Linked DNA regions of Homo sapiens: all the other regions are linked to region 7. Evidence: promoter capture Hi-C in 16 types of primary human blood cells and fetal thymus (Javierre and others, 2016). All regions are on one chromosome and are shown on one strand. Each heading gives the region's core, a stretch centred on a gene start or on the middle of the fragment in contact. The rest is flanking DNA. Distances are from core to core; before and after follow the strand shown. Region 1 overlaps NMNAT2 (nicotinamide nucleotide adenylyltransferase 2). Region 2 overlaps TSEN15 (tRNA splicing endonuclease subunit 15). Region 3 overlaps COLGALT2 (collagen beta(1-O)galactosyltransferase 2). Region 4 overlaps NMNAT2 (nicotinamide nucleotide adenylyltransferase 2). Region 5 overlaps COLGALT2 (collagen beta(1-O)galactosyltransferase 2). Region 6 has its middle 2.2 kb from the start of TSEN15. Region 7 holds the start of APOBEC4 (apolipoprotein B mRNA editing enzyme catalytic polypeptide like 4).

Region 1 (3,999 bases), core at 117-2,616, 380 kb before region 7:
CAGGATCAGGACACAATCTTCTCCCCCTGCAGCATACAGTGGCCCTCAGTTTAGCACTGGCATATGTCGAGCCTCAGAGGTGGGGGTCTGTGACATTTATCCTGCTTCTACTTCCTGCTCACAGGCACAGCTTTGATCATATCTTTTCATCTTCTGGTCAAAGGCTCCCCAGGGGAGGTAGGGATAGGGATGGGGAGAGGATGTGGGAGGGGGTAGACTCTGCTTCCCCAAATGTGGGGAATCTGAGGGAAGGATATGAGACATGTTGAGGCAGGAAGCAACTTGGCCTTGGAAGAGAAAACACTCATGATCCAGGCAGCAGAGCTCTTGGAAGGAACGTAGAGTTTGCATCATCCCTCCAAGAGGCTGAATTTCAGCCTCTTGCCCTGCCTTGCTGGATTTAAAGGGATGCTTTGAGTGGGTGGATGACTTGTGGTCTTAGCCAGGCACTTTCCTAGACACTAGGCATGCAGGGTTGAGCAAGGCAGATATGGATTCATCTCTTGGACAGATCACTCTCTAGTGTGAGACATTAAACAAATGATTATTTTCAATTGTATCTACTGCTGTGAAGATATGAGTAGGTTACTACCGGGTGGCTAATATCTTACAGTGACTAATATATTATGGGTAACTGGCAAAAGTTTGGGTCATATCCCATGGGGGAGGCAAACTGTCTTATGAGCTGAACTCCTCCAACCAAGTTGTTCTCAAGCACCCTTTCACTCAACAAACTTTTATTGAGCATGTATATGGTGAACTGGGCACTGTTCTGGTATTGGCAAATAAGACAGGCAAGTTTCCTGTACTCAAAGGGCTTACCTTCAAGTAAGGAGAGATCATAAACAAATAAATATATAAATAAGAAAACATCATGGCAAGGTGTGATGTCTCACACCTGTAATCCCAGCACTTTAAGAGGCCAAGGTGGGAGGATCACTTGAGGCCAGGAGTTCCAGACCAGCCTGGGCAACATGGTGGTAAGACCTCATCTCTACAAAAACAAATTTTATTTTAAATTAGCTGAGTGTGTTGGCACGTGCCTGAGTCCCAGCTACTTGTGAGGATGAGGCAAGAGGATCGCTTGACCCCAGGATGATTGCTTGAGTCTAGAAGTTCAAGGCTGCAGTGAGCTATGATCACGCCACTGCACGCTAGCCTGGGTGATAGAGTGTGACCCTGTCTCTGAAAAATAAATAAATAAAAAGAAAACATCAAATAGAGTTAAGTACAATATTGATTATAAAACAAAATGACCTTTATGTTGAAACCTACGTGATACGAAGGGATGGGCACAGGGATATCTAGGAGAAGAGGATTCCCAATGAGGCCACAGCTAGTACAAAGACCCTGAGGTGGGGAAAACTGTTTAAATAAACTAGGCGGGACTAGGACACACTGCGGTTGGAAAAGTAGACAAGTACCAGGTCATCATGAAGACAGGGTTTCATTCCAATTGCAAAGAAATGCCATTAGAGTATTTTAAACACAGGACTTGAAACTTCCATCGGCAACAGGATCCAATGTATGTGGATTTGCCCTGGCAGGCTTAACTGGCAAGATCCTCTGCAGGGCCATCCTGAGATCAGCGTTCTGAAGCCTGAGTTTCCCTCCCAAACAGTGTTCTCTTCTCAGGTACAGTACATCAGCGACTGCAGCCCATTTGTGTTTCTTCTCTGGATAAGGATAGTCAGGGATGCACATGGGCCCATTGGGAAGGAGGGGAAGAAACATTGATTAAGGTGCCTGCTATGTGCCATGCACAGTACTAGGAGCTTATCGCATTTAATCCTTATGACAACTGTCTTCTGAGATATGTGCCTCAGTTCTTATTTCATAGGTGGGGAAACCAAGACTCAGTGAGATTTAATAACCTGTCCAAGTTGCACAGCTAACGAGTGAATGTGAATGGAATCCACCGTGGTCTGCCTTAAAGACTCTTTCCTCCACATCACACCTCTTCTAGATCCACTTTTAAGACTCATATTGTAGTGACTTGAAACTTTTTTTTTTTATTTGAGACAGAGTCTCGCTCTGTAGCCCAGGCTGGAGTGCAGTGGCGCCATCTCAGCTCACTGCAAGCTCCGCCTCCCGGGTTCACGCCATTCTCCTGCCTCAGCCTCCCAAGTAGCTGGGACTACAGGCACCCGCAACCACGCCCGGCTAATTTTTTTGTATTTTTAGTAGAGACGGGGTTTCACTGTGTTAGCCAGGATAGTCTCGATCTCCTGACCTCGTGATCCACCCATCTCGGCCTCCCAAAGTTCTGGGATTACAGTAGTGAGCCACTGCACCTGGCCTTGAAACTTTTTTGGTTAAAGAAGTATTTCTAGTTGAAAATACATTCTACCTTATTTTTTCCCCCAGCTTACCATAGCTACTTGGGAGGCTGGGGTACTCTGTATCACCCTTAGAGTATTATAATTTTAGTATACTTCTGGATGAGTTTAAAAAGATGCAAAGAGAGAACTTGTGACAAAAGCCATGCAGTATATGAGCAGCTTCTGAAACATGCTCCCTCCATTTCAGTAAAGGATCCTCCACCCTTGCTGTAGCCCCTGCCACTCTCTGGAGGAAAGGCTGGGAGGAAACCAGTAAGGTCAGAGTCCAGCAGGTGGAAATGCATTTCCAGGATGGCCCTCTTAATGAAAAAAAAAAAAAGAGAGAGAACCATTCTTAAGAGGGGCTTCCCAGATGAAATCATCCCCACTCCCACTGCCAACTTAACTGGGGGTGTGGGAAGGCAGGGGATTCCAGACTCAAGTCAACAGCCTGGAAACCAAACCAACAGTGCCTTTCACATGAGAACAGCCAGAATCCCCCATTGGCAGGAGCTGAGCCTCCTTCCCCTGAGACTGTAATTTGGTATCGTTTGGTATCAGTCGTATCAGTGTGGGGGCCTAATCCCTGGGGTGCAAGAGTCCATCAGGCTTCCTGGCTGGAGCTGGACTGTCTGATAAAAACCATCTGAGCCTGAATAGCCAAAGTTTGTCTTTGTTCCATTTATCCTGGGGCCCTGGGATTTCTTCTGGAGTGGCTAATGCCCGAGGCTCTTCCTCTGTTTATTTTCTTTGGTTGTTTTCCCATAGCTGATGGATGTAGGAAGCAGTTAGCCCACGGCTGGTTGGCTGGAAAAATGTAGGATACAGCCAATTAGAACCAGCCTGTGGAATGCTGGGCTTTGAGGAGCGCAAAAAGAAAAAAAGATAAAACAATTCCCTCAGTGGCCATCTCTGGTGGCTGATGTTCCATCCCCAAGTTTTTACTCTTTTGGGTTAAATATTGACTCTTGCTCATTTGAAATGCAAATACTCTTGAGAGCAGCTAATACATGTAATCATTAAACTTAATGATTTTGCTGCTTGCTCAAAAGTTAATACCTTCCCAAATAAATACCAGGATCCACCTATTTCAACCAACCAGAACCATCTCCCCAAAGGTCTTGTTCCCCCCACCGAATCTTTTATATCCTCTTCCCTCCTTAAAAAGCTCTTCTCTTTCCACCTACTTAACCCAGTCCTGCTCACAATTCAAAGCCCAGCTCAAGGGCCACCCCCTCCCACAGAAAGCAAAGTGCACGGTCAGGTACTTTGTCTACTTTGTTTTCTCACATGGCTGGGTGCTCAATAAATATTTTAAAATAAGTGAATAACGGCCAACATTTATGGAATGTTTACTAGGTTCAGGAACTCTTCTAAACTTTTCACATGTTATAGTTAATATAGTATAAAGAAATATTATAATGAAAAGTAAGATACTTTTAGACTGCAAGTGCCTCAAGGATAAATACATGCTACGTTTATCCTGGGCACTTAATAAGCATTTGTTGAAAGATTGATTGAAGAAAGGAATGCTTGAATCAGAATTATTTTTTTCTTTTTTTTTTGAGATGGTGTTTCACTCTTGTCACCCAGGTTGGAGTGCAGTGGCGCTCTCTCGGCTCCCTGCAACCTGCACCTCCCGGGTTCAAGCAATTCTCCTGCCTCAGCCTCCTGAGTA
Region 2 (3,634 bases), core at 873-3,372, 410 kb after region 7:
AGAAGAAAAAACCTAATATTTTAAAACCCCGAGATGTGTAGGGAAAATTAAAAATTTATTTATTGTTCTTACCCATCACTAAAAATGTTATAAATGTATTTGATTTTACTTTTTATTTAAATATAATTAATACAAACATAATTATATACTACCTAGAGGCAAAATTTGGTTTTAGGATAGAATAAAAAGGTAAATTACAAATTATTCCAGTATTTTCTAAGTTGCTTATTTATTTATTGGCTGCCTGGGCTCATCGGGTGCAAAATATTATGGACTTTGCCTACAAGATGCTAACAGTCTGGAGCTGAGATGGACAGTCATTTACATCTAGTGTGATAAACGTAATGACAGATATGTACAGGGTACTGAGGAAGACCACAGAGGGAGGAGACCTAACTTTGACTGGTGGGATAAAGAGACAAGAGAGTCTGGGAAAACTTACTGGAGGACAAGATGTTTGAAATATGCAAGAACAAGGAACAAGGATGGGAATGGATGCCCTGGTTAAAGTAATAACATGAGCAAGGTATTGAGGGCTGAGAGGGCCTGAAATTTGCCAATAGTTCATTATGACTGGGTATGTAGTAATGGCAGAGAGAGTACCTGCCTGCAGTTGGTGAGAAAGCCCTAGATTGGTGTGGCATGGGTGGAGAAGGAGTGAGTATGTGTGATACAAGAGATATGGGAATGATGGGAAAAGGAGGGGAGGAAAGGAGAGACAGACATAGAAAAAATATGAAAAAACAAACAAACAAACAAACAGCTCTCCTCCTGGGAAGTAACAGTTCAGGAGAAGCAACCTCTTAAGGATTAAGGAAGTCAAAGGTAAGAGAAAGTTAAATCAAGAGTTTTGCCACTACAAAATCTGTAGGAAATCCTGAAACAAAGGTGGGAAAATTATTTGAGTCAGAATATTAGGAATTGTAATGCTTGTTTCTGTTTTCTGTAATGGATACCAATTACAATGTGCAAATCTGTAAGGATATAGATGTTTAGCTATTAATGCAAGAACCTAATTTGGGGATTTGAGGAGGTTAAGTAACTAGGGTTTAGTCATCTGAGCTTTTCTCTTCATTATACTCACTCCCTAAGCGGCCTTATCTGGTTCTAAGGTTTTAAATATCATCGATATACTGATGACTCCCAAATTTTTATCTCCATCCCAACCTCTTCCATGAACCTCAGACTCATATATGTAAGTGCCTACTTGACATCTCCGCTGTGATCTAAAAAAGGCATCTCAAATTAGCATGTCCAAAAAGAAATCTTGATTTGCTCCTATACTTTCTCCTTCTGTCGTTTTCTTTTTGTCAATAAATGGCAACTCTATTCATTCTGAAGCTCAGACCAAAAACCTTAGAGTCATTTTAAAATGTATACACACACACACACACACACACTTTATTTTTTAGACCAATTTTAGATTTACAGAAAAAATTGAGCAGATAGTACAGAGATTTCCCATCTAAGTCCCAGTCCAGCATAGTGTTTCCCCTATTATTAACATCTTTGTGTTAGTATGGTACATTTGTTACAATTAACCAATATTCATACATTATTAGTATTATTAACTGAAATTTGTCATTTACACTAGGGTTTATTCTTTTTGCACAATTCTGTGGATTTTGACAAATGCATAATGTCATGTATTCATCATCACATACAGAATAGTTTCAGTGCCATAAACATACCCTATGCTTCATTTATTCATCCCTTTCTTCACCCCCAAACACATCCCTGGCTGCTACTGAACTTTTTACTTTCTGTGTTGTTTTGCCTTTTCCAGAATGGCATATAGCTGGAATTATACAGTATGTAGCCTTTCAGATTGGCTTTCACTCAGCAATATGTATCCCTGCTAGCATGGCATTTTGGGTTTTAGCTACCCTAGTGGGCACACAATGGCATCTCATTGTTCTTTTAACTTCTTGCAATTTCCTGATGACATATGATGTTGAGCATCTTTTCATATGCTTATTTGCCACCTGTATATCTCCTTTGGTGAGGTGTCTGTTCAGATTTTTTGCCCATTTTTAAATTGGGTTTTCTTTTTGATAAGTTTCAAGACTTCTGTGTATATTTTGAATGCAAGTCCTTTATCAGATATGTGTTTTACAAATATTTTCTCCCAGTCCATGGCTTATATTTTCATTATCTTAACATTGTATTTTGCAGAACAGAAGTTTTAAATTTTAATAGAATCTGATATAATTTTTTTCCTGGATCATGCTTTTGGTATTTTATCTAAAAACTCATCACCAAATCCAAGGCATCCTATTTTGTCTTCTAGAAGTTTTATAGTTTTGCATTTTACATTAAGGTCTGTGATCCATTTTTAGTTAATTTTTATGAAGGATATAAGGTCAGTGTTTAGATTGATTTTTTCCAGGTGAATATCCAGTTACTCTAACACCATTTGTTGAAAAGATGTTTATTTCTTCATCAAATTGCCTTTTTTTTTTTGGTCAAAGATCAATTGACTATTTATGTGAGTCAATTCTGAGCTCTCTATTCTATTCCATTGACCTATTCATCTATTCCTTAACCAATACCACATGATCTTGATTACTATAGCTTTACAATAGGTCTTTTTTTTTTCTTTATGTGATTTTTTTGAGACAGGGTCTCACTCTGTTGCCCAAGTTGGAGTGGAGTGGCACGATCTCGGCTCACTGCAACCCGGTCCGCCTCCTGGGTTCAAGCAATTCTCATGCCTCAGCCTCTTGAGTAGCTGGGACTACAGGCGCATACCACCACACCTGGCTAATTTTTGCATTTTTAATAGAGACAGGGTTTCACCATGTTGGCTAGGCTGGTCTCAAACTCCTAACCTCAAGTGATCCGCCTGCCTTAGCCTCTTAAAGTGCTGGGGTTACAGGTGTGAGCCACTGTGCCCGGCTTGTAATAGGCCTTAAAGTCAGATAAAATCAGTCCTCTCACTTTGTTCTTTAACACTTTGTTGGATATTCTGACTCTTTTGCCTTTCCATATCAATTTTACAATCAGCTTGTCAATATCTACAAAACAACGTGCTGGGATTTTGAATGGGATTGCACTTGTAGATCACATTGAGAAGAATTGGTATCCAGGAACATGGACTATCTCTCCATTTGTTTAGATCTCCTATGATTTCTTTCATCAGAGTTTTACAGTTTTCCTCACATAGATCCTATAAATATTTTGTTAGATTTATACCTAAATATTTATCTTTTATGATGCTGATGTAAATGGTGTTTTGTTTTTAATTTCAAATTCCAATTGTTTATTGCTGATATATAGGAATACAGTGGACTTTTGTATATTATCCTTGTATCCTGTAACCTTGCTATAATCTCTTAGTTTTTATTCTTCCATTTTCTCATACCCCCAAATTAATTTATCAGTAAACCCTGTCAATTCCTTAAAATTACATCCAGAATCTGTCCATTTCTTACCACTTACACTACAACTGTTACCACTCTGGCTTAAGCTGCTATTATCTCACCTCCTGGACCTACTAAGTGGTCCTCCTTTAAAACACTTGATATATTAATGCTACTCAACATATTTCATATTTGGTTTTCTTTGATTATCTACTGTCTGTTTTCCTCCACTAGAAAGTAAGTTCCCTGAAAGTGAGAACTTGGTTTTGTTT
Region 3 (4,036 bases), core at 1,045-3,544, 370 kb after region 7:
GCAGCTGCTGCTTCTCTACCTGGTGCACACAGCTCCTTCATAAGAAGGTCTAATATATGCCATTGCAAGGCTAGCTCTCATGTTGCCACTTTCCTTGGGAGTTCAGTCATCATCAAGCACGTGCCTTCCCAAGGAGACAACACTCTTAGCAAACACCTTTCGCACAGTATAAAACAGGATAAAATACCACGAGCTTCCTAGAAAAGGATTTTTTAAAGCCATCCCCCAGAGATCTAAAGTTGGGCTGAGGGTCCAGGAAGCATCGATTATGCAGTTATGTGAACATTCTTCAGATATGGTTATCCCCATGAAGAGGAAAGTGTTAGGTCAGGAAAGGACTCAGAGAACATCTCATCTAGAGATTTTTAAGCAAGACTGCATATTACCACCCTTTGGGAAGTTTTCAAAATACGTCAATTGCCCTGGATCATCAAATGATTCCAATAAGTGGCTGCATTTGAAAAGCACAATTTTAGCACATTTCCCTTATGTTACAGGAGAAACTAAGTGACTTGCTCAAAGCAGCCTAGCATGAGCAATGCTTCCAAGACCTTTCACAGGACAACACAGATAGCGTATTTGCACACTAGGGAAAAATGAAAGACGCTGCTTTTGGCTAGAGGAAACTGTCCTGGAGACCCCACTGCCACCAGCCTCACTTCATCTCCAGGTGATTGTTATTTTCTTGGTGGGATGTGCTAAGCTGTGGTATGCAGTTCACATTTTTGAGAAGGATAAAAGATACAAAAATAAAGTGGATGCATAAACTTAAGAACTTTATTGTAGAATTTTTGCCCTGTCACCAAAAGAGCACAAGAAAATAGGGTATGGAACCATATAAGACTTAACAACTGAGTTGCAATCTTCCCCACAGGAGGCTGCTGTACATGCAGTTATAATAATGCTGCTATATCAACTTCTTAAAAAATATTTGTTGTGCAGCAGCAACAAACTCAGAACAATCCTCTGTATAGCAGAACAGAACTGTGTGAATTTCTAAAAAGCCATATTTTGAGTTCATAGCTAGTGAAGACACCAGGGTTAGGGACTTTGTAATATCATGTAATTAAGGCTGAACTGCCAGCTACTAAAAACAGGCTAATTTAGTAGACTGTTTACATTTGTCACAAATGAGGGGAGGAATTTTTAATGGTATGCCAACGGGAAAAATCTAAGAAAATTAAATACAAGAAACAAAGAAACCAAGATTAGGGTATATAAGGACTGAAGTGGCTCAAATGAATTCTACTTAGTTTAAAGAAATGCACTGGTTTGATTTCCCTGTACTCTAAGATGTTCATTAGTAGGTATTTTTTCTTCTGCAATACTAAAGGCTTAATGAACTCATTGTGTAAGATACACTGAAGAAAGAATGTGAGGGAGTGTCGTTTTATACTGAGCCCCAGTGCAAGGAGCTTCATACAGTGGGTAAAACATTTGGGGCATTGTCTTTTAAAAAATCTTTTTAAAAAAATAGTCACTATTAGATGGAGATGGAACATATGTGCTTGACTTAATAATAATAACAAAAAAACACAAATGATGCATGCCTGGCTGGGTTTCTCCTATGTAATCCTGTACATTACTACTTCTCTTAATAAGAAAACCCCTTGGTCTTTTTGATGGCTTAAGCATCTGGAATCTGAAGTTTAGAATATTCCAGAGTATGCCAACTTTCCAAACTCTGAAAATCCCATGATCTGTACTTTAAGTGCATACATAGCCTTCTAGGAGCTCATCTTCTGCAGTTCCCAAACCAAGAAGAAGTGCATCCAAATCACTTATGTACATGCTTAACACACCAATTCCTAGGACCCCGCTGTGGACCATCTGATGAATGTGACTGAAATGGGCCCCAGAAATCCATGTATCTAACAAATGCTCCAGGTATTGTGATGCAACTGGCCTCTGAACCTGTATTTGGGAAACACTAGTTGAATCCAGCAGCCTTACACTAAAGGGTTGGCAGAACAATGGTAAGGACCATGTCCACTCATGGACAATGAACTAGACCAATGGGGACAAGTCACTTTTAGGCCACCTCAATTACTAATTTCAACATGATTACCTGGATTTATCCACATAGACAATCAGTGATGGTGGAATAAATAAAAGGATGTAACATTTTAAAAATCCATTGTTTTAGAAATCCATAGTTTGTCTTGCTAAATAAAAAGCTTACAATGGAAACCAACGTACCCAATAAATTTTATTAAAATCTAACAAGATTGAGGAAAGGCAGAGAAGAGGCTTGTACTTTTCTAAAATATTTTCGTATGCTGGCTGTTTCAAGCCTTACATGCCAATTCCACAAAATCCATTTGCAACACAAGAGATGGTCTGACTGTCTGAATACTCTCCCGCCCAACCTGTTTCTAGCACAAGGAAAGCAGTGGCGTGGAAGCTGCATATAAGCTTACTGTTCAATGGTGCAGTGATGACATGAAAAATCCTGATTCCACTTGGCAGCAACTTTCCACTATCTTGGCGGGTGTAAACCATAATCATTGTGGTGTGTGGTGCTGAGACAGGATTATGGGGCTGGCTGGCAACCAAGAAACTAAAAAACAGTCTATTAGTCCAGCAAGGGACTCCGTGTCGGGAATGCTATGGCCCCAAATGTCTACAACCACACTTTTCACAACTATCCCAAGAATTTAAGTTCTACTGTTAGTCTCTAGAAAATTCTACCTTTCCCAAGACTCTAAAATGCAGCAGTTTCTCACTTAATATGGCTTTCAGGGAGAACACCAATCAATGTACCTCCACAGACTCTCCTGTCTTAGAGTTATGTCTCTCTCTTGTGAGAATGAGATACTTGCCTTCACCACTGCCCTCCCCATCTCCAAAACATATACAATCACTCTCAGAAAGAAAAGGGACTGGAAAGAAACAGTCCTACTTCCCTCTTGGCAGCAATTGTATGCACTTTGGGCTTGGCAGTCCAAATGGGGAAAGCTCTATGTAAGGAACCTCCTCTCTGCAGCCTGATGTATCCCTCAATAGGTCTTGAAGTGATTCAACCTGGAAGGTAATGAACTATTCCAATAAAGCCAATGTGTGAATGAAATCAGGTACTCATGAAAATGCTTCAGCTCAGCAGCTTGTCCCAGACTCATCTTCTACCATACTCTTGGGGGTATACAGCCCAAGATCACTATTCTAAGATCATTATTTATGTTATTATTTGTGTTTCTGAAAGACATATCTTCTAAGATGTCTTCAAACATTAATCAGAAAACACTGGAGGGAAGGAGATTATTTTGCATTATGTTTGCAGAGGAACAAAATCTTATCAGTTAAACCAACAAGTCAGGGGACAGGCCTTAGCTTGCTGAATTTGACAAACAACTAAAATAATAATTGTTGCTTCAATTAAGTGAAACACGTTACAAAGTCAGCCCTAGCAAGATGTCATGGAGCTATTATTCAAAGTCTAACTCTGAAAGGATTTCTGTATGGTGCTCCTAGAGAGGAAAAGAAACGCCCTGCAGCCAAATCTGAGGTTTAATTCATGCAAGAGACTTGGCTAATGCCACCTACCACAAATGCTGCATTTTCACGGATCTGAACTACAGAAAGTTCCAGCAAATTAATTACAGCCACTCTATTTATATTCTACCTGACTTTTCAATTATTACCTATAATGAGATTTTTATTTTTATGAACATTAATGCACAGCTTTCCTACCAGAGGAGTAGAGAGCTAAGGGAAAAGTAATACAATCCTGATCCTTTTACCACTAGGTCACTCGCTGGCAGCTTGCCAAGCCTGCTGGTTCCCCAAAGTAGTTACTGCTTGGGTCCTAGGGTTCCTTCAGCAGCCTGAGGTGGGAGCAAAGCTCACCACCCAAATGTCAACATGGGTCAGGCAAGTCAAGTCAAAGAAAGACAGCGGGGACTAACTGCAAGTGCACACAGTGTGGGTCTGATGGGGACTGGGCTGCCTGGACAAAATCCAGGGGACAGCAGCTACTCAGCTCCAACAATAGTTGCTGTGTATGAATCCAGGCCTGGCAAGGTCAGGTGCTGGTTAC
Region 4 (3,829 bases), core at 1,160-3,659, 370 kb before region 7:
GCTTCAGACACCTGCGTCTCCCACCATTCTGAAACCCTGGGAAGATTTCAGTGTTCCTATCTGCTTCTCAATTTGCTTGTAGGGGTCATCAACTTCTTCCCACCCTGACAGCTGTGTAACCGCCCTCCACCGGCTCGGGCCTGCCCTGGCCTGCTCTGGTATTGGGTTGGGCAGGCAGCCCTCACACAGACAGTGAAGTGCCTTAGCCTCTGCCCAAGGCTGCAAGGGAGGTGTGGAGGTGGCTTTCAGTCCCCTCTCTGTTTCTTCATCTACAAGCACTGAATGAGGAAGGCCGGGGTGCTCTTCTGCCTCATTTGTGTGCAGTGTCTGTGCCCAAAAGAAGGGTCTTTCCAGCTGGTGCCAAAGCTCAACTTTCATGTTTTTTAGAGGAGGGAGTGGAGGCTCTGAAGGAAAAATCACCAAATGATCCAGTCCTATCTCTTGGGAGTTGGCTGGAGTCCAGTTAAGAGATGTTAAAGGGAGCTAACTACGAATGCAATCTTAGCCTGGGAACGATCCCTCTTCCGAGAGGAGACCCTGCTGCAAAACAGTCCCTGGGTTTTCAAGCCTCTCTGCTCCCCATGTTGCCTGTCGTGAAGGCAGGGAGCTCCAAATGTCCCCATTTTCCGCACTTTCGCAGTCCCACTCACCAATCTCTTCATACCGCATCACCGTGCCCAGATTGGCATTCTCATCTAAGGAGGAAAGAAGGAAGGTAGGGCATTAGGGAACAGGCTTCCTGGTACCCAACACACAGTCTGCCTGAGGGCCTCAGCAGGAATTATTGGGATGGGGTGGGGTGGGTGCAAGTAGGGGTGTGGTGTGCCACCTGAGGAGGGTGAATGGAGAGCAGTCAGGCATAAAACGGACAGGAAGCTTTCCTCCCGCTCCAGGAGCAGCACTTCACATTGCTGGGACTTTCAGAATGAGACAGCCTGGCTGGGGAGCCAATGCCGAACACACACACGCTCATGCTGAGCGCCTTCTGTTTCTGTGTTTGAGGGAGGCTGGCCACAAGAGCAACATCCTTACAACCTAGGGAGATGGCTTTCTGGGCCACAAGAGGTGGCTGGCTCTCCTTAGGGATTACCTGGTTTAAAGAACAAGCACACTGTGGGTGCAGAACTTTTTCACATGGTGGAATGTAGCAAGTGCCTGCAGGAAGATGTGAAAGACTGAGTCTTCGATGTGCCCTTGTGTGTGCAACGCCTGTGTGGGGGGATACGTTGTGCACAAGTACGCACACACACACAATCACGGGAATTTGCGGTGGGGGGAATGTGCTTGAGGATCTTTGCTGAAGGAATGAAGGGAGGAGAGAAAGAAAAGAGACAGGACTGGGAATCAAGTTCCTTGGTTCCTCACCTACAAAGGTGAAACGCTCCACCGGCGGGCGGACACAGCAGATCCGGCTGAGGCTTTCTCCCACCTTCCCCAAGATCTTGGCTATGGGAGAGAGCAAGACAGACAGGGACAGAGTGGGAGAGAACAACTCACAACTGGCACTCATGTCGGCCCGGCATTGGGGCCGCTGTAAACATCAGGGTGCATGGACGGGGCAGGAGTGGGGAGCAGGAGGTAGCAGGAGGGTAGAGAGAAAGAACAGAAATATGACAGCACAAATTCCTTCTTCTCACTCACAGTCTGAGGCACACGCATTGTGAGCCCTAGACTGGAAGCCATTTTCTGGTTATGTTTATTTCATTGTTGAAAACTTGGAAAATATAGAAGAGGGAAAATATAAAGAGGAAAACTTAATGCACCCATAATCCCACCCCAAGAGATAACTCCTGCCAACCTGTTGGCATGTCATTTATTTTCTTTCATGTTTTAAATGTGTATTATGCAGGTATGTCTACATAAAGTGGATCAGATTTTCCATTTAAAGGGCATATAGGCTGCTGGCTTCTTTCATTTTCTATATCATGAACATTTCTTCCCCAGGTTTGTCCCAAGCCTATCCTTAGCTGCTCCTCCCACTGGGCAGCTACACCCACATCCAAGGAGATTCAGCAAAGTACATGCTTGGAACCATTTCTGCTGGGCTAAGGCGCTCCTTCCCATGCAGATGGTCTTCAGAATCATCAGACATCCTATTTGGCTGAGAGGGATCTGGTTTTCAATTATCCCTCTGGGCTCCAATCCAGAAAAATTTTCTGAGCCCCCCACATGTAGCTGTATGCAAACTGTGAAATTCTGACTCTTCTTTGTGAATTACCCTGTTTATAATAGACCAATAATATAATAGCTTATGGTCTCCAGGCTTGAAAAGTAATATCAGAATCTGTCTCTTGGAGTTGGCTTGAAGAAAATTTTAGAGCATGGACCTGGGAGCCTGACAGTACTGAATATGAATTCTAGCTCTTCTACTTTTGAGCTGTGTGACAAATCAGCAAATCACTTTTCTTCTCTGAATCTGTATTCTATTTGAAATGAGAACATAATGTCTATATCACAGTATTACTGCATTAAATAAGAACGCAGGTAAAGCACGAGCATCATTTGGGCACATAGTCCTAGGTTTGGGGTATGTGTTGGTGCTCTCTGTCACTGGATTGATGGCTAAGAGTGTGGGGATTCTGGGTGCGGACCGCCTGGGTGTGACTCATGGCCCTGCTTCTTGCTCACTGTGTGACCTTTGGCAAGATCCTCAACCTCCCTAGAAGAGGCAGAGAAAAATGCTCCATTTTGTATATTCAATTCCCAGTTAACACAATTATTTCTCAAAATTTATGTATTTTTTTGAGACAGGGTCTCACTCTGTCTCCCAGGCTGGAGTACAGTGGCACAGTCCCCCAGTCCCTGCAACCTCCTCCTCCTGGGCTCAAGAGATCCTCCCACCTCAGCCTTCTGAGTAGCTGGGACTACAGGTGTGTGCCACCATGCCCAGTTAATTTTTGTTATTGTTATTATTATTATTATTATTTGGTACAGGTGGGGTTTCGTCATGTTGCCCAGGCTACTCTCAAACTCCTGGGCTCAAGCCATCCACCCACCTCAGCCTCCCAAAGTGCTGGGATTACAGGCGTGAGCCACCAGGCCCGGCCCTACGTTTATATTTAAATGCAGGAGAAGAGTGCACACCACCACCTGCCTCTCTCTGATTGTGACTGGTTTGCTCTTATGCTCAGTATTCAGGGTCCTCAAAGTATTGTCTCTGGACTAGCAGCATCAGCAGCACCTTATTAAAAATACAAGTCCTCTTTCCCCTCTCAGACCTACTGAATCAAGTTCTGGGTGGATCCCAGTAGTCATTAATTTAACAAGCCCTCCACATGATTCTGAGGTCTGAGAATCACACATCAGTGTTCCCCTACCTGCAGTGGGCTTGGTGGCCACGTTGCTGTTCTGGTAAATGGGCTGGGGGGTCTCGTTTTGTGGCTGTCCGATCACAGGTGTCATGGAAGGTGTGTTGACATTGGAGAGGATGCAGCCAGTCACCCTCTAGGGAGAGAGAGAAGAGTGTTATTAGTCATGTGACTTTGAGAATCGTTTCAAAGTTATCTCCAAGTGGTCATCTGCTTGTCCATCATGGAGAGGCCACCCAGAGCTGAGGAAGAGCCCTGGGGATGGGTTCTAGACCCAGCTGCATCATGTGGTCACTAGGCTGGCAGGAGCAGCTCAGTGGGAGAAGCATGAGATGTGGTGTTATAATGGGTCCTGGGTCCAAATTTGGGCTCTGCCTCCTTCTAGCTATGTGACCTTGGACAGTTATTTCATCGCTCCTGAACCTCAAATCAGGAGTCTAACCATATATCTGTCTTTTTCAGTTGTGGTCGGGTCACACAAGCGAGCATATGCAAAGTGCCTATGGGGTGCCTGACCCATG
Region 5 (3,635 bases), core at 782-3,281, 300 kb after region 7:
CAGAAAAAAATCTTAAAATTTTCATGGAACCACAAAAGACCCTGAATAGTCAAAGCTGTCCTGAGCAAAAAGAACAAGGCTTGAGGCAGCACACTACCTGCCTTCAAAATATTCTACAAAGCTATAGTAACCAAAACAGCATGGTACTGGCATAAGAATAGACAACACGTAGACCATGGAACAGAATAGAGAACCAGAAATAAGTGCACACATTTACAGCCAACTCATTTTCAACAAGGACAACAAGAGTTACAGATAATGAGGATGTCCTCACTATTCCCAGACTTAATGAACCATAGAAGTATCTAAAGCTTTGTGAATGCCTTTACACGTAAATCAATGTTTTAATAAGGTCCTTTTGCTACAAATAGTAAGAAACTCATTTTAAATGTTAAACTAGTGACTTTAACTGCCAGTGAGAAATGAGGATGACACATAGCATGGTAAAGCAGAAACCTATAGAAACAAGTCAGGTGGTGTTGACTTCATCCTGACTAACCATCTGGATGACTTTGAGGAGACATTAATGTTTATGGGTCCAGTTCTATAAAAATAGGGAGGTGCACAAACTCATCTTTCAAATTCAGTACAGATTAAAATGTTTAAGACAGGTGGTTTATAATAAAGTTGGCTTTCTGCTATGGCCAGAATAAAGGAGAAACTTTGTCTTAGAACCAGTCTGGAGTTCAGATTGTACTGTGTTAAGGTTTGGTTCACATGGTCATTCTGAATGCAGTCATAAATATATGTTTCACTGGAATTAAAAGCTACACTAACTAAAATTTCAACCCTTCCTTGCAAAATATTCTCATTTCTATCCATTTATAAATCCCTGGGTGTAGAAACTGATGGAGGAGCAAGATATTCCCTTTGAAGAAATTGTCCACCTGATTTAGGGCCAAGTAGATTAAGTGCATCCTAATTTTACTACCTTCCTTGTTTACCTAACTGGGTAATTATTTTGTAAAAAACATAATTTTCTGTGGTGACTCTATTTGCCTCATTACTTGGGACTTTATAACTTAATGGGTTGTGTTCTTTTAGTCAGAATCATACTGTGATGGGTCATGCCTCATCCCCTAATTTTCCAGATATGGAAAGGAAAGGGCATTTTCTCAGGTATAAACATGAAGCCACCTGAGGTCACTCTAAGAGAACAAAAACAGAACAGAACAAAAAATCAACAGAAATAAATCCAAAAAGGCCCCCAAAAACAGAGACCTCCAGTCTGGGAAGACTTTCAGTAAATAACAATCCAGTTCCAGTCCCTGCCAGGACAAGTGCAATAAAACTGTAGCCACGAAGTAAAAACACAGATGGCTCACTCACACTTAGTGAACAGTAAACAGAGAAAAGAGCATCAGAGCCAAATGCAGCCCAGACACCACCAGTGAGGTCACAGAGTCCGAGGAGGATTGAAAAGCCCCTGAAAAGCCCTTTTTCTACCATGCTATCTCTGTTCCATACGGAGAGGTGACTAACCTCAGACTCAGGAAAGTAGAGTCTCCGAGCCTGTGCCACTTCATGGAGTTGGCCTTCTCCTGAAGGGCTCTAGGAGTGACCCAGTCCTTACACCGTGTCCTGCCCAAAGAAGACCGGAACTGGAAGATCCTGGTTTTGTCTTATTTTATTTGCTTTGGTTTGGTCCTCATAGGAATGTTTTTAGGAGGAGAAATGAATCTATGTAAGGACACTTGGGTCCTTTCACCTAGGGAACCGAGAGAGAGCTGTAGGGAAGGAAAGCTACAGTAACATGTGGAAGCTGGTCCACTGTGGGTGTGGGACAACCTTCTCTATAGCCCTGATCATTTTTAAAAACTATTTGCAAATGAGTCTTATTCCTCTCTACTACATGCAGCTCATCTCTTCTCATTCTGCCCTTTGTGGAAATACCATAGTAGCTGTTAACTCTTCCCCACTTAATAATCATGAAATATTCTTTCCCCCTTCCTGAAGTATAGCTCCAAATCAGTCTTACGGAAGAAATCTTAATTCCCAGTTCTAGCGTCAAATCCCTTTGAGAAGGCTGTACTCTGGGGACATGTACATATATGTATGTATATGTTACCATGTGATAAATAAGGCATCTTCCTTCGATTAATCAGTGGCAATTAGCACCAAGCTCGAAGCCTGATCTGTTACATATCCAGAGTCCATGGAAGAGTTCTCAGTTTGTGGACTCCTGAGGCACTGCCCTAGCTTCTAGACCACCAAGCTCCTTCTGAATACTGTTCAGCAGCTACAGGGGACACCCATGAGAGAGTCAGTGATGTGGAGTCACAATCCCTGCCAAGTATCTGTTACGCATATTACCAGGAGGGGAACCTCTTAATATTTCTGCTTCATTCTTTATACAACTAAAACTTAATAATAAATACTACCCTTAGAATATTATTAGGAAGTTCTTGCCTGCTGAAAGGCAGAATTTTAGAACAAATATGTTTTTTTTTCTTTCTTTGTCCTCTCAACCCTGCTCTCTAACCTTTTTCCATGGAAGAATAGTAGAAATAAAAGAAAGCACAGAAAGTTCCAGAATAGTTTCCACTTGCTCAGATGTGGCAGAATAAAATTAAAGTCCTCCATATCTAAAACATGTATCCTCTGTATCTTACTCTTGAATTTTGATAAAAAGGTTGATTAAAAATATCACAATATCTGCTCCTAGAAAATATCAAATTCACTTTCATTACTAAATGGTAATTTCTTTCTAAGTAAATGATTAACTACATTTATCATGATACTCCTTTTTTTAAGATAAGGAAACTGAGAACAACAAAAACCAAGTAGTTTTCCCAAGACCTCAGAGCCATTTCAGCAGCCAAGCCAGTCTTGCTGGCTCTCAGATGCAAGCTCAGGCTTGTGTTCCAAAATGAACACACAAGCCTGCACACGCGTGCATGTGCACACACATATAGACACCTTTCCTACCTCATCAAATCCCATCTTGTCTGGATATTTAGGGACAACTGAGACATACTGGGAGGGTTCCATTGGAGGACGGTCAACTGGAAGACACAAGAAACATGCAGAGTGCTTTGTTAATGAAAGGGTCAGAAATCAGAATTCCATCCGCATGCCTGATCTCTAGGGTTGGAATATAACTTGGAAATACAGGGCAGGGGACAATGGCAGCAGTTCTCCAGGATTGAGTAGCCACACAGGAACCCTGCTGGTCAGGGCACTGGTTTCAGGAGCATTTGATTATATGGAGATTGCAACATTTGCTCCACTTCCCTTAAGACTTATTTCAAGAATATTTGGGAGGCAGTTTAGGATAATGGTTAAGAGGAAGGGCTCCAGAGTCGGATGATCTGGGTCCAAACCTTGGTTTGCGAAGGAGTAGGAGAGTTAGGGGACCTCTTTAAGCTCATTTCTTTGGTGTAAAATTGGGATAATAGAAGTGTATCTGTGTTATAAAATTTAAATGAGACCTGCGTGCAAAGCACTCACCACTTTAACACAGTAAATGCTCAACAACTCTTAGCTATTACTTACTATGGCCCATGATGAAAGAGCTCAGAAATAGGCTAGAATTTTTACTGAAAAACACTTTTTTCTCTGCATTTAAAATTGTCAAAGTGGGGGACTATTTTTATCCCACCTGGGCAGGTTTAGGTGTGGGTGCGCAAAAGGTC
Region 6 (3,979 bases), core at 364-2,863, 400 kb after region 7:
AAGCTAAGCCATCATATTCCCCGTGACCTGCACATATACATCCAGATGGCCTGAAATAACTAAAGAATCACAAAAGAAGTGAAGATGGCCTCTTCCTGCCTTAACTGATGACATTACCTTGTGAAATTCCTTCTCCTGGCTCATCCTGGCTCAAAAGCTCCCCCACTGAGCACCTTGTGACCCCCCCCTCCCCGACCCCTGCCCGCCAGAGAACAACCCCCTTTGACTGTAATTTTCCTTTACCTACCCAAATCCTATAAAACGGCTCCACCCCTATTTCCCTTCGCTGACTCTATTTTCAGACTCAGCCCACCTGCACCCAGGTGGAATAAACAGCCTTGTTGCTCACACAAAGCCTGTTTGGTGGTGTCTTCACAGGGACATGAGTGAAGCATATGGTTTGTGCTTTTTGTGTCTTAAGAAATCACTCTTAAACTTGGGGTCATAAAATATTCTTTTATATTTTCTCCTAGAGATTTAAAAGTGTTTGCCTATACCGTGTAGCCAATCACCCCTTCTCTCCTTCCCTTCTTGCATCTGCCCACATGTGTATGGGTCTGTTGCCTGGCTCCCTATTTTGCTTCATTGGTTTTACCTATCCATGTGCCAATATCACATACTTGTAATTAGAGATCTTTGTAAGAATTTAAATTTTGTTTAAAACCTTATCTTTATAAGATATTTATATTTCAGAACTTTAACTTCGTAAGTTCTCTCCCTTTTGTTCACAAAAAGGGTCTTGGTTATTTTTGGCCCTTTATGCCCACATTTCAGAATCAGTTTATCAGGTATTAAGAAAATACTTTTTGGGATTTTAATTGGAATTGATAGAATCTGTAAATAACTTTGGAGGAAATTGCCATCTTTACAATATTGAATCATTCTCTTTCTTGAATCTTTCTCTGTTCTTGAAACACAGAGAATAGGAAATTGTGTGTTTTGTGTACAAAAAAAGGAACAAGATATATGTGAACCTCCTTACAACCAATGAATGAAAAGCTGATCCAGAATGCTAGGCTACATTTTTCAGCTTGGAATCACTGTCTCATACAATACTGTGTAAAAGCTTTTCTTCTTCTTTTTTAAATTTTCTTTCCACACTAGAGATTCACATCACAATTTAGTGTTCGCATTTCCTCGAGACTCTTACTGAATTAATATGTCTCTGGCTAGACATTACAGATTTTTGTAGGAATAAAATGATCTGGCTCAGGATATCATTGGGAAATGAGTTCAGCAAGTGCCAGATTACAATGAATTTGATTAAATCCAATATACTCAGGGGGGATTTCATTCGTTGTTTCTTATCTAGCTTTTTTTTCTCACTACTTTGGTTCTCTAATAGAGTGAACTATTGAAGCATTTACAAAATGAGAAATCCTCCAGGATACCAGACACTGAAACTCTCCTCTGTTCTCTAGTGGATTTCACTCTAGATTGTCACAATAGGTATTTTGATTCTGTACTTTAAATACTGGGTTGTCTAAGTGTTCCCAAATCCTTTGTGTTCATTCTTAGCCATTCACAATCACCAAGACCTATTTAAAAATTTACATTAACAGGGAAGCTAACAGACACTCCCTTTTCATTCTTCAACTCTTTTGAAAAGCACGTAATACTCATTCTTGAATGTATCATGCTTTTTCTAAGCAACAGTATTTAATCTATTTGCCAAAGGATGGCATTTATCTGTTGCTTTTTTGGTTTATGGTTCTTTCCATACCCCCAATTATTTTTTCTTGAACATAAGCTGAAATTCTTCCCCTGCAGATGTTTGAGGCTGGTTCATATAGTCCCTAATCCCATTGGATATCCTTACTGATTTATAAAAGTTTCCCTCTACTCAGATTAGCATCAAAATACTCTTAATGCTTTTAAAAATGCCATCATATGAACTGATTTGGATCTTTAGGAGTCAGAGAGATTTATTCACTTCCAATCACTTGAATTCGTGTCAGTGTTTCATGCTTCAATGACCCAATTAATTTCAGTGCCATTTTCTTCTTTCGGGCTTAGCAGCTGCTTTGTGGTGGCAAAGGTTCATTCAAATGTAATGTATTTGAGGGCAACATATGAATCTTCATGTGTGGCTTTACATTTCATTCAATAATAGATGCCCTTCTTTTCCCTGTGTATGATGTGTTATTTCTTTTGATGCATTCAAGCTTTTCTCTTTATTTTTTTGACTTTCAATAGTTTTATTACAATGTAGACTTCTTTGTGTTTATTTTAGTTGCTATGTATTTAGCATTTTGTACTAGTAAATGTGTTTTTCATCAAATTTGGGGAAATTCTGGCCACCACTCTTTCTTCAAAAATTTTTTCTGTCCCTTTTTTTTTCTACTTCTGTTGTTTACATGCATGTTGGATTGTCTGACATGTAGCAAATCTCTGTTGGTCTACTCACTTTTTAAAGATAATTTTTCTCTTTGTTGTTTACTTTTAATAATTTCTATTGCTCTATCTTCAAGTTCCCTACTTTTTCTTTTGTAATTTTTTTTGGCTGTTAAATTCACCCAGTGAATTTTTTATTTCTAAAATTATAATTTTCAATTTTCAGAATTTCCATTTGGTTTTAAAAATCTTTTTTTTTCTTTTTCTTTGCTGAGATTTTCTATTTGTCTCCTGAGATTTTCATTCATTGAAAACATGTTTTACTTCATTGAGGATAGTTATAATAGTCACTTTAAAATCCTTATCTGTCAGTTTCAATATCTGATTCATCTCAGGGTTGATCTCTAGAGTATGCGATCCATTTCCTTGAATTTCATATGTCAGATAGTTTTGGATAGTACTCTGGACTTTGTGAGTGTTAAGTGGAGAGTCTGGATTCTATTATTCTTCTCTGATGAGTGTTATTTCCTTTGTATTAGTAGGTAATTTTCCCGGCTAGATTTTAACTGAAAACTCTCTCCCTTTTGGAGACAGCTCTGGTCTCAGTTCAGATCTTTTGTTTTTAACTGAGCTGCTGTGATTCTGTTTTGGGTGGTTCAGGATCTCTCAGAGATGTGGGTTGACAGTTTGGGGATCCACTCTCTGACTCCTTCCTTGGGATTTCTTAATCTCTTCAGAATTCAAAATTTTCTGTCTTCACTTTTCTGCTTCCCCAGACAAGAATAACTGATAAGTTTTATACATGCATCCCTGGTACTGCTGAGCCTGACTTCTGGACTGCACTTTGCCCCAAGCTAAATGCCAAAGAGAGGAGAATTTTCTTGTGGAGTTCTTGATCTTCAAGCAAGCTTGCCCTTCCTACCAGTCTGCTGTTCACATTCCAGTATATTCAGCTTTTTGTATTGTGTCCAAGTGTAGTTCCTGATCTTCAAGCAAGCTTGCCCTTCCTACCAGTCCACTATTCACATTCCAGTATATTCAGCTTTTTGCATTGTGTCCAAATTGTTTTCTGCTGGGGGATGGTCCACTAGGGTCTTAGTCTATCATGGTTGAAAACAGAAGTTATGTCCTGCCTGGGACTTTGGATTTTGAGTCACCCTTGTCCTGGTCAATGCGATAGCCTCCTAACCAGTCTCTGTTTGTGTCCTTGCTCCCTCCAGTCTATCCTCAACATATCAGTCAGAGTGATCCTATGAAAACGTCCAGGAGCCTCCAATAGCTTCCCATTTCACTCACAGTAAATTAAAAAATACTTAAAATGTGCTACTCTGCCTGTTTGAAACTCCTCATCCTTGGCTTCCAGATCACATGCTTATGCTAGTTTGTATCCTACCTTTCTGAACACTCGTTCAGCAACTCGTGTTTCCTCTAATCCTGAAACGTGGGTCCACCCTGAAAGTATGGTTCTACTTTAAAGTTCTATGTCAGGGCACTGAGTAAGGCCTTTCCCGTCCCCAGCAATCAGAAACCAGGACCCCACTGCTGAAGGCAAAGAGGACGTATGTATCCCCCAACTTTCTCAGAGAGTTATCGGCAGCACTGACTTAAAGAGGATTAAGAGCTTCAGGGCGCAGGCTACTCTTTA
Region 7 (3,831 bases), core at 145-2,644:
TTGCCAAAACCAAGCCCAAACTTTCATGCTTTTTAATATTGTGCCCTTGATGTGGTCGACTTATGGGTGGTACACCGGACATCCAGGTTACTGCTCAGATTACAATTTCAACTCACCCATAGACAATTTACAGATTGATTTGGCTAAATGTTATGGAAACAGAACCAAAAGGCACTTTTCTGTCTTTATTACTATTTCTTAAGGTGATGTGTATGTGGAGTTAACTATATATAATGGTCCCATAATTACCCTTTTGGGAAACAAAAGTCTTTGTGTGTTTTTAGATAAAGGTAGCAAAATGGAAACTCCCTATTGCTTTTCTAAGCACGCCTTCCTTTGCACCCCCATCTTCTGTGGCTGTTTTAGCCAGAAATGATACATCATTACTGTCTTTAAGGAGATGGAGAGGACTGTGGCTTTAACACATAGTGGAGGGAGCTCTGTAGTCTCATTCTTGCTGACAACTTTTCAGTGTCAACCAACTATAGTTTCCTATTGGTGAAGTTTTCACTTTTTCAGAGTCTTTCTGGGCTTGTTCTTTGATCACCCTCATCTGAAGAGGAAGCAGGAAAGAACTGTTGCCCTCTTTGAACTCTTAGAGAATTCATGGTTTATTGTATCAATTTGTTATCGACCACAGATTATCTTGTTAACTTTTGGTATCTGTCATTTTATTCTCCCCAACCAGGTGGAAATGTACCCTGTTTAGGCCCAGGACCTACCTTAGCAACCTTGATTGGCTCACAAGCCAGGTTGCTTAAGACTTGTTTCCCCAGCAGCTGGTGTCCCTACTTCCTGCCTAGCCCTTTTCCTTTTGCTTTGTCTGTGCTTGGGAAATACATGTTATACTCTGTAGAGCAGATTTGCTGGCAGTAAGAACAGAGATGTGTAGAGCCCAGCGTGCTGGAGGGCTCTCTGCATCTGGCTGTGAGTGGCCCCTGGACTGGGACCGTGGGAGGACAGCTTTCCATAGTTTAACATAAATGAACCACACCATAAGGACAATCTGCTCTCATTTCACTCAACTAGGATTTAGTGAGTACTGTTAAAGCACAGTTTGCACTGGAGTAATTGGAGAATGGAGTTTGCCCTTCACAATCTGTGCACAATCTGTTAGCAGCTAAAAACAAATGTTAGCAGTTATAATTACCATCAATTTGTCTCCAGGCTTGGATCACATTCCAGGTGTTAGAAGAGATGGTCCATTTCCTTTTTTTTCTCCTTTAAGTCCCATGCCCTGTTTCAAGTAGCTTCAGAAGGCAATTGTGCTGTAAAGATTCACCTTGTAATGGGTTCAGGACTCTTTCACAGTTTGTGTCTATTCGTTCATTTGAACTTTGCTGTTCCAAGTTAGAAAGCCCTTGCTGAGGTGTGGCTACCTCTAAGAACACTGTTGATTGGGTGCCATGGTAACGTTTGCAAAGTAGCTACTGCTAGGATACAGCTCTGACACTTATTACTTTATTTGCATATCAAGCCACCTGTTCCAAAGATGAAAATATACAGGACTGCATATCCCAGTCTGGGTAAAAGGATAATAGCTGACTGTTGAAGAGAACATGTTGCAGTTTTTCTCCTGCTAGCTGAAGAATCAAGTTCTGAGGGCCTGCTCCTCAGCACCTTTCTCCTGGTCTAGAGTAGGTGCCAGGCCTGGCGGTTCTGTTGCCTGCGTGGGTGCCAGGGCTTCTCCTTGGGAGGCTTGCCCTCTGTGAGAGGGAGCAGAGAGTTGACTTCCTCCAAGAGGCCCATAGTCCCTGAAGGGGGTGTTTTTGATTCTGTCTAAACCTAGGCTATGTGTTAGCGGTTTCCCTCCTCTTAGAAATTGCCTGGAAGACTCTTGCTATTGGTATGTATGTGGTTCCCTCCAGTTTAAGACAAGATTTGTTCCAGGATCGGTTGTAGCCCCTTCTCTGTGGCTAACGGAAGAGCCACTTGTCCTTCTCCATTCTTTTCCTTAGTCTCCCTTGACCCCCACATCATCTCCTAGACACAAGGCACATTGATAGTCACAATTCACTGTCAATCACTCTGGATTATTCCCTCATTCCCCTTTCCCAGGCCACCTGAAGGAGTGAGTGGGGATTGCTATTGTGTACATTCCAGTAATAACTATTGGCTGTAAGCAGACATACTCTAAAAATAACTCAGGGATACTGAGCACCCAGAGGGCACCTTCTGTCTTCTCGAAGCTTCGCCACGCCTGTTTCCACTGTCAGACTTCCAGTCTGCACCACAGCACACATCCTTTCTCATCCAGAGTGCTCCTACTAGACGAGATGTTTTTGTCTCCTAAGGGCCTCAGGTGTATTCATGAACTCCTCAGCTGGTTATTTTCAGTTTCATCTTCCTTGGTGCTTGCTCTGGCACATGGTCACTGCTGCATCCTGTCCCTTCCCCACAGTTTGCCATGGGTCATCCCTTTTTTCTCATTGCTTGCATCTTCTAACTGAATGAACTTGTAAATATGGAACTGAAAGTCAATCCTCATAGCTCATCTTTTATTTAATCCTAATAAATGACAATCTATTGCAAACATTACTTTAAAAATATTACTTATCAAAAGCTGGGTGAAAGGATAATAGCTGACTGTTGAAGAGAACATGTTGGGGTTTTTCTCCCGCTAGCTGAAGAATCAAGTTCTGAGGGCCTGCTCAGTTCTGTAAGAAAGTATTAGCTGTCTGACAGGTTCCAGTGAGGGGAGGAAAAGACAAAAAATATAGTCCCCAAATCTGCACCAGCATCCCATGTGCACTGTGCACCTTCCATGGTGGATTAGATGCTCAGCAAATGATATACCTATGGAAGGTTAAGCCTAAAGAAACAGGAAAAATGAGCCTTTGTCCACTAGCACATTTATCAATTGCATTTTAGGGTGATTTTAGGGATAGGCAACCCCAATTAGTCATTATTCTTTAAAGGTAGTTGTCTGTTAGATGTAGGAAGACTCCAAGGAATGTTAAGTTGGCAACATTCCATTTAGGTTGCACAGAATGACTTTTAAGACTAAACTTCATCAGGAGGAAATGAAAGGCCTTTACCATGGTTCCTGTTCACAGTGAAATTGACATGTATTGGAAAGGAGATGCTTGGAAGAAATGTCTAGCTTCCCCAACAGACTCCTTTCTTCTCTTTTCTGTCTTCCTTTGTTAATCTGCCATGTTTCATCTTCATTCAGATGAGTTATGATGTATATTATTTATGTAGAGATATTATGAGATTATAATGAAGAAGATTTACAAAGACTAAACTATCCTGCAATGATCTAAATTTTTAAGAGACATTTACTCAGTTTGGCACTCCAAAAATTATTAATCTATGTTCTGACAACCCAGTTTGGGGTATATCCAAGATGGCTTGTGTGTTGCTAGTTACTGCTTATAAGGCAACTTTCTCTTTGGGTGGCAGGAAGTAAAATATTTATAAGTTATTGCTAAAATGTTAAAGTTTTATTTGAACCTACTGTACCCAAGTAATTATATAATTCATCACTTTAGTAGCAGTTTGGTTGACACTGAACAACAATGCTCAAATTCATGTAGCAGTAACAAACTACGTGATAAAAGGAACTGAATTTAGAAAGCAAGCTTCAAGTAAAGATCAGAAGATTAAGTAGATTTCATGGAGCTCACTAAGGAGTTAGATGGGAAAGATGAGATAAGAAAAGCACTGGAGTTGAGACCAAAAGGAGACGAAAAAGCAGAGGGTGGATCTTCGAGCTCGGGGGGTTATAAACAAGATGGCCACAAGGTGGCAGCACAGTCTTAACAGCAGAGAGCTTTCTGTAGGGCCACCCTTAATTTGCTAACACCACAGACTTTCTCTTAGAATTCC

The links. The method cuts DNA at HindIII sites, captures the fragments that hold promoters and counts their contacts. A CHiCAGO score of 5 or more calls a contact.
Region 1: a contact is called between a fragment that was not itself captured here and the fragment with the promoter of APOBEC4 in region 7, in 1 of 17 cell types (neutrophils). The highest score is 7.6, in neutrophils.
Region 2: a contact is called between a fragment that was not itself captured here and the fragment with the promoter of APOBEC4 in region 7, in 2 of 17 cell types (activated CD4 T cells and endothelial precursors). The highest score is 7.0, in activated CD4 T cells.
Region 3: a contact is called between a fragment that was not itself captured here and the fragment with the promoter of APOBEC4 in region 7, in 1 of 17 cell types (M1 macrophages). The highest score is 5.1, in M1 macrophages.
Region 4: a contact is called between a fragment that was not itself captured here and the fragment with the promoter of APOBEC4 in region 7, in 1 of 17 cell types (neutrophils). The highest score is 6.4, in neutrophils.
Region 5: a contact is called between a fragment that was not itself captured here and the fragment with the promoter of APOBEC4 in region 7, in 8 of 17 cell types (naive CD4 T cells, non-activated CD4 T cells, total CD4 T cells and 5 more). The highest score is 6.9, in naive CD4 T cells.
Region 6: a contact is called between a fragment that was not itself captured here and the fragment with the promoter of APOBEC4 in region 7, in 5 of 17 cell types (non-activated CD4 T cells, activated CD4 T cells, total CD4 T cells and 2 more). The highest score is 6.8, in non-activated CD4 T cells.

The regions. Positions count from the first base shown.
Region 1 is chr1:183,267,884-183,271,882 of GRCh38, forward strand. The region is part of intron 8 of NMNAT2 (nicotinamide nucleotide adenylyltransferase 2); the gene reads right to left. Among named protein-coding and RNA genes, the nearest start is that of LAMC2, 84 kb to the left of the region's middle. The HindIII fragment of the contact is 7,306 bases long and covers 1-3,999 here.
Region 2 is chr1:184,063,806-184,067,439 of GRCh38, forward strand. All of the region lies in intron 3 of TSEN15 (tRNA splicing endonuclease subunit 15), which reads left to right. Among named protein-coding and RNA genes, the nearest start is that of TSEN15, 14 kb to the left of the region's middle. The HindIII fragment of the contact is 5,213 bases long and covers 1-3,634 here.
Region 3 is chr1:184,025,583-184,029,618 of GRCh38, forward strand. The region is part of intron 1 of COLGALT2 (collagen beta(1-O)galactosyltransferase 2); the gene reads right to left. Among named protein-coding and RNA genes, the nearest start is that of COLGALT2, 10 kb to the right of the region's middle. RefSeq lists an enhancer at 1-18. The HindIII fragment of the contact is 238 bases long and covers 2,176-2,413 here.
Region 4 is chr1:183,283,345-183,287,173 of GRCh38, forward strand. It overlaps NMNAT2 (nicotinamide nucleotide adenylyltransferase 2), which reads right to left. Exons shown (of 11, transcript NM_015039.4): 5 at 3,318-3,444; 6 at 1,366-1,446; 7 at 651-695. Among named protein-coding and RNA genes, the nearest start is that of LAMC2, 99 kb to the left of the region's middle. The HindIII fragment of the contact is 3,071 bases long and covers 875-3,829 here.
Region 5 is chr1:183,951,834-183,955,468 of GRCh38, forward strand. COLGALT2 (collagen beta(1-O)galactosyltransferase 2) reads right to left here. Exons shown (of 12, transcript NM_015101.4): 7 at 2,929-3,005. Among named protein-coding and RNA genes, the nearest start is that of COLGALT2, 84 kb to the right of the region's middle. The HindIII fragment of the contact is 3,444 bases long and covers 310-3,635 here.
Region 6 is chr1:184,047,536-184,051,514 of GRCh38, forward strand. No RefSeq gene overlaps it. Among named protein-coding and RNA genes, the nearest start is that of TSEN15, 2.2 kb to the right of the region's middle. RefSeq lists enhancers at 3,114-3,979, 3,802-3,911, 3,972-3,979. The HindIII fragment of the contact is 1,099 bases long and covers 1,065-2,163 here.
Region 7 is chr1:183,651,922-183,655,752 of GRCh38, forward strand. It overlaps APOBEC4 (apolipoprotein B mRNA editing enzyme catalytic polypeptide like 4), which reads right to left and starts at 1,395. Exons shown (of 2, transcript NM_203454.3): 1 at 1,151-1,395. It also overlaps a transcript of RGL1 not described here. The HindIII fragment of the contact is 5,397 bases long and covers 1-2,187 here.